Regions from separate parts of the Homo sapiens genome. Here region 1 is linked to region 2. The links are contacts of gene promoters, found by promoter capture Hi-C in human tissues and cell types (Jung and others, 2019). All regions are on one chromosome and are shown on one strand. Each heading gives the region's core, a stretch centred on a gene start or on the middle of the fragment in contact. The rest is flanking DNA. Distances are from core to core; before and after follow the strand shown. Region 1 has its middle 34 kb from the start of BEND4. Region 2 holds the start of BEND4 (BEN domain containing 4).

Region 1 (2,700 bases), core at 16-2,515, 34 kb before region 2:
CTCTAGCCTGGGCGACGGAGTGAGACTCTGCCTCAAAAAAAAAAAAAAAAAAAAAGGAGTGTATTTTCGTAATTCACATAAAGTTACCATATAGACCAGTAGTGGCCGTAATAGTCACAATGCCAGATGCTTTATGTTATCTCATTGAATCACCATAAAACCTTACAAAATCATAAGATGAAGAAAACGAAGCTCAGGGAAGTTCACTAACTGATTAACAGTCAACCACACACTGGCAAGAAGCTAAGCTGAAATTTGCTTCCAGATCAGTGTGTACCAAAATCCAGGTTTCTCACTCCACCACGTTGCTTCTCACTGCAAATCCCGATCTAAAAGAGACACCACTAACATCAATTGTGCTTTGACTTTGCCTCAGACACTCTTCCAGGTGCTTTCACATACAACAGTGAGCTAGGTCTTACTAACTCTGTTAGAGAGCAGGAAATGGGCCTGAAAGGTTTACCCAAGGCCACACAGCTTAAGTTGTCCATTTACTGCCTCTTTCCTACTTTCTCCTTCTCCTCACACCACACTCCATCATCGAACGTTCCCACGTCTTATATCCACTTATCCTAGGCAATCCATAAACAAAAAACAGCCTTTCTCCCATTTACCATATAACTTATATCCCTTTAGCACAATCAACATCATCTAAAATCATTTACAAAGTGAATAAGATAGCAATTGTCTGATGATGCATTTGCTCTCAAAAAACAAATAAATGAAGATCAAGTTAGAAGTAAGCAAAAGCTTCATTTCAGGGAACAAATTTCTAGCTCTTCTTGATATATATAGTTTTTATTGGGTTGATTTATGTATTTCACCCTAAAGATGAATTTGACCCTCTATAAAGAACATACAAATTAATATTCACCCAAGATATGAATCTTTTTTCATTTTCATATTAGTGGAAATCAATTTGTTAAACTATTGTTGAGTGCAATTTGTTAATTTTTCACTCCTACTTTTCTGCCTAAGTTGAGGTATTTGGAAATATCTATATAAACACTTTCTGTCAATACTACCAAGATTTATATTGCCAAGTTACTGTAACTGTTGGCTCTGAGAGCACTATGAACTATGCCTTGCGATGTTAGATTCTATTGAACTTATGTAATAGAGAAGTGATCCATTTTTTTAAAAAGCTCACAATGATTTTTGTCTCCAGCAGGCAGTGTGTAGCAATGACTTCTAGGTTGAAGAGATACAACTAAAAAACTGGATGTGACCCTCTTAATAGGTACCTAGTCTAGTGTGCTGACATTTCCATGTATTCTTTTTTTTTTTTTTTGAGACGGAGTCTCGACCTGTTGCCCAGGGTGGAGTGCAGTGGTGCGATCTTCGCTCACTGCAAGCTCCGCCTCCTGGGTTCACGCCATTCTCCTGTCTCAGCCTCCTGAGTAGCTGGGACTACAGGCGCCCGCCACCACGCCTGGCTAATTTTTTGTATTTTTAGTAGAGACGGGGATTCGCTGTGTTAGCCAGGATGGTCTCGATCTCCTGACATCGTGATCTGCCCGCCTCGGCCTCCCAAAGTGCTGGGATTATAGGCTTGAGCCACCGCGCCTGGCCTCCACGTCGTCTTTAACCCATTTCCTATGGTGGTCACTAAGCAGCTCGCTGCACCAACAACCCCACTTAGTTAGAGCCTAAGAATTGGGATTTATTCAGAAGTCTCTCTCTCTCTCTCTCTCATAGTTGGCTAGGGCTGCTGTAACAAAGTATTGCAAATGGAGTGGCTTAAACATCAGAAATGTATTGTCTCACAGTTCTGGAGACTAAAAGAAAATCAAGACATCAGCAAGGCCAAGTTCCCTCTGAAGGTGCCAGGGAAGGGTGTCTTCCAGGCCTCTCTCCTGGCTCCTGGTGGTTGCTGGCAATCTTTGGCCTTCCTTGGCTTCTAGACACATCACTCTGAGTTCTGCCTTCATGTTCATATGGCCTTCTCTCTGTTTGCATGTCTGTGTCCAAATTTTTCTTTTTTATAAGAACAGCAGTCATGTTGAATTAGAGGCCTACCCCATTCCAGTTTCACCTCATCTCAACTAATCACATCTGCAAAGACTTTATTTCCAAATAAGGTCATATTCTGAGGTACCAGGGGTTAAGACTTCAACAAATGAATTTTGGGTGACACCATTCAACCCACGCACTTTCATAATCTTCAACATACAAACATACTCTTCCGTCTCCTTTCTTATAAATGCAGTCGTGCGTCACTTAAGGATGAGGATATGTTCTGAGAAATGCATCATTAGGTGATTTAATCGTACTTACACAAACCTAAATGTAGAGTCCGCTACACACCTAGGCTATATAATACAGCCTACGGTATCTAAGCTGCAAACCTGTACCGCAGGTGACTGTACTGAATACTGCAGACAACTGTAACAAATCATAAGTATTTGTATATTTAAATATTATATTAGTCTGTTCTCCCATTGTTATAAAGCAATTACCAAAACTGGGTAATTTATAAAGAAAAGAGGTTTAATTGGCTCATGGTTCTGGAGGCTGTCCAGGAAGCATAATGGCTTCTGCTACTGGGGTGGCCTCAGGAAACTTACAATCATGGCGGAAGGTGAAGGGGAAGCAGGCACGTCTCACAAGGCTGCAGCCATGAGAGAGATGAGATAGAGAGATGGGGAAGGTGCTCACACTTTTAAATAACCAGATCTCACAATAACTCACTATCATGAG
Region 2 (2,755 bases), core at 224-2,723:
TAAGAAACATCTCCCTGGCATCTCATTCTCTTTCTCTTTCACCAGCATTTCATTATTTCTTAACTGTCCCTCTCATGCTTGTCTCCTTTTCCTAGTGATCCACGTGTCCTCATTTAGCAGTTTTCAGAAGCCAGGGAGAAACATTGCAAATAATGTTAAATATGATTAATATCTTGAATTCCTTGAAATATGACATGCATGAGTTACAATGAAACCTCTTTTATTTCCCCATGAAATGCTTTTGCATAATGAGAAAGAAAATGTCCTCTATGCCCTAATCAGCCCTGACAGTTCCTGGACTCCCAAATACTTATATTTATGGCATTATTTATTTCATCTCTAATAAATGGATTGGGGGGGGGACACAGCACCATCTGAGGAAGCTGCAGGAGAGAGGGAGACAATCTAGGGGGGAATAATACAGAAGCTGAACCAGCAAGGCAGAGAGAAAAAGCTTCCAAAGGGAAGGAGACCAGGGAAAGAGAGGCCAAAAGATGTGAACCCCCAGAAGAAAATGGGTCACCTTCCTAAGAATAAAAGGAAGGCTCTGAAAAGGAAACAAACTTCAGAGTGCAGAGATGAGGGTCCTACATCAAGGAGCATCCAGAACTCTGACCTGGAGAACGAAAAAGGAAGGCTGAAAAGCAAACCTGGGGCAGGGTATGCTGGTTGGCCTAGAAGAGGGGTGATTTGGGATAGGGAGCAATGGACCCTCTGCCCCAAAAAGTGGCTGGGAGAGACCAGGACATCTGCATCCCATGGAGGATCTTCCTCCCAACGACTGAGATCTCTCATTCAAACGGCTACTGAAATTGGGCACCCTCCAGACCCTCGCCGGATGGCGCCAGTTGCAGTGAGTAAAACAATGCAAGGAGTGAGTTCTCGTGTTTCCCTGGGCTTGCAAGTACATATACATATATTAAAAATGACACTGTTGAAAGTAATCATCACCTCAAAGGGAGGTATCAGGACATTTCCCCACTCAATTGCACAGAGGCTACTGGCTATGGGAAGTGAGGAGTTGACTTCAAATAACCTGGATGCGTCAGTGCAACACAGCCGCACACTCCCGAGTGTCTGACTTTGGGCAATTCCCTTCAACCTCTCAGAGCCTCGGTTTTCTCATCTTTATAATGGGGGGGAAATCATGGTGTCATGCACGTTCTCGGGGCCCCTACGGGAAACAAATGAAAACGTGAAAAAGTTCTACGCCTTGCGAGCTTTTATGTTCCGCATGAGCTCAGAGGCCGCGATGCTCGGGGAAAGCAGGACCCCAAAGCCCCGTAAACACCGCGCGACCACCCGGGCCAAGATCTTCAAGAGGTTCTTTTCAGAAGGATCGGAGAGCAATTCCCGATTGGTAGAAGAACTTGCTGTAATACACACGTACTCTGACGACCCCGCCCCAACGACTAGCCCCTCCTCTGTGCAACCCCGAGAGTTTGGGGTCATGCAGGGGGCGCCACGAGCTCGTTTCGGAAGCCGGACCCCGCCCGCAGCCGCAGAAGCCTCGAGTCCACATCTGGGTCTCTAAAGTCTCGCCGTAGCCAGATCCCGGATCCCCACCTTCTTCACCAGTTCCCGGGCGTCCTCCAGGTCCTCGCTTTCCCCCTTCCCCCGCTCCCCGTCGGAGGCGCGGAGCCGCCAGGCAGACCCCGCGGGCGGCTGCGGCGCCAGGCCCCGCCCCGCCCCCATTATCATTAGCAGATATTACCCTAAACACTTGCTCTTTACCTCCTTTCTCCCTCCAGGCATTGGCGAGGCAGCCTGTCAATCAGGAGCTCGGGCGGCAGCCCCCCGCGCGGGGGCTCGGCGATGCCAGCCTCAGCGACAGGCGGCGGCGGCGGCGGCCACGGCACAGACACACACCCTCCCACACGCGCGCACCAGGGCAGACCCGGCGGGCAGGCGGCGGAGGCACCCTCGGAGCCCGGCGCCCGGCGGGGAGGGGACGTGCTCCGAGGGACCGGCCCCGAGGCGCCGGATGGAGGAAGAGATGCAGCCGGCAGAGGAGGGGCCCAGCGTCCCCAAAATCTACAAGCAGCGCAGCCCCTACAGCGTCCTCAAGACGTTCCCCAGCAAGAGACCGGCGCTGGCCAAGCGCTACGAGCGACCCACCCTGGTGGAGCTGCCGCACGTGCGGGCGCCCCCGCCGCCCCCGCCGCCCTTCGCGCCGCACGCCGCCGTCTCCATCAGCAGCAGCGAGCCGCCGCCGCAGCAGTTCCAGGCGCAGAGCTCCTACCCCCCCGGGCCCGGCCGGGCCGCCGCCGCCGCTTCGTCGTCGTCGCCGTCCTGCACGCCCGCCACATCCCAGGGCCACTTGAGGACTCCGGCGCAGCCGCCGCCCGCGTCCCCCGCCGCCTCCTCGTCGTCTTCGTTCGCCGCTGTCGTCAGGTATGGCCCAGGCGCGGCGGCGGCCGCCGGCACCGGCGGCACGGGTAGCGACAGCGCCAGCCTGGAGCTCAGCGCAGGTACCAACTCTCCGCACAACTTTCCTTCCCGCCACGGCCGGGGGCAGCGGGAGGGGACCCAGGAAGGAGAAGCGGGGGGCCGCCGACACTTACCCGTGCTGGGCCGTGTCGGGATGTCGGGGCGCACCTGGGGCCTCCCCGCGCACCCGGAAACTTCGAGAGGATTCTCCAGCGCCGCCGCGCCTGGGCTTCCGACGGCGCGCGCCTAACAGGTGGCTCCGCGGCTTGGATCCCGCGCCGGGAAGCACGGCTGTGGCAGTCGGCGACCAGGATCGCTCGGGCGT

Evidence for each region. Contacts are between HindIII fragments. The study calls those that stand out against the background at their distance.
Region 1: a fragment that was not itself captured here is called in contact with the fragment with the promoter of BEND4 in region 2 in 2 of the 25 tissues and cell types used here (hippocampus and mesendoderm cells).

What each region holds. Positions count from the first base shown.
Region 1 is chr4:42,185,222-42,187,921 of GRCh38, reverse strand. No RefSeq gene overlaps it. Among named protein-coding and RNA genes, the nearest start is that of BEND4, 34 kb to the right of the region's middle. The HindIII fragment of the contact is 4,180 bases long and covers 1-2,700 here.
Region 2 is chr4:42,151,373-42,154,127 of GRCh38, reverse strand. BEND4 (BEN domain containing 4) reads left to right here and starts at 1,473. Exons shown (of 6, transcript NM_207406.4): 1 at 1,473-1,596; 2 at 1,752-2,471. The coding sequence starts at 1,985. RefSeq lists silencers at 1,781-2,100, 2,301-2,390 and an enhancer at 2,156-2,755. The HindIII fragment of the contact is 6,033 bases long and covers 1-2,755 here.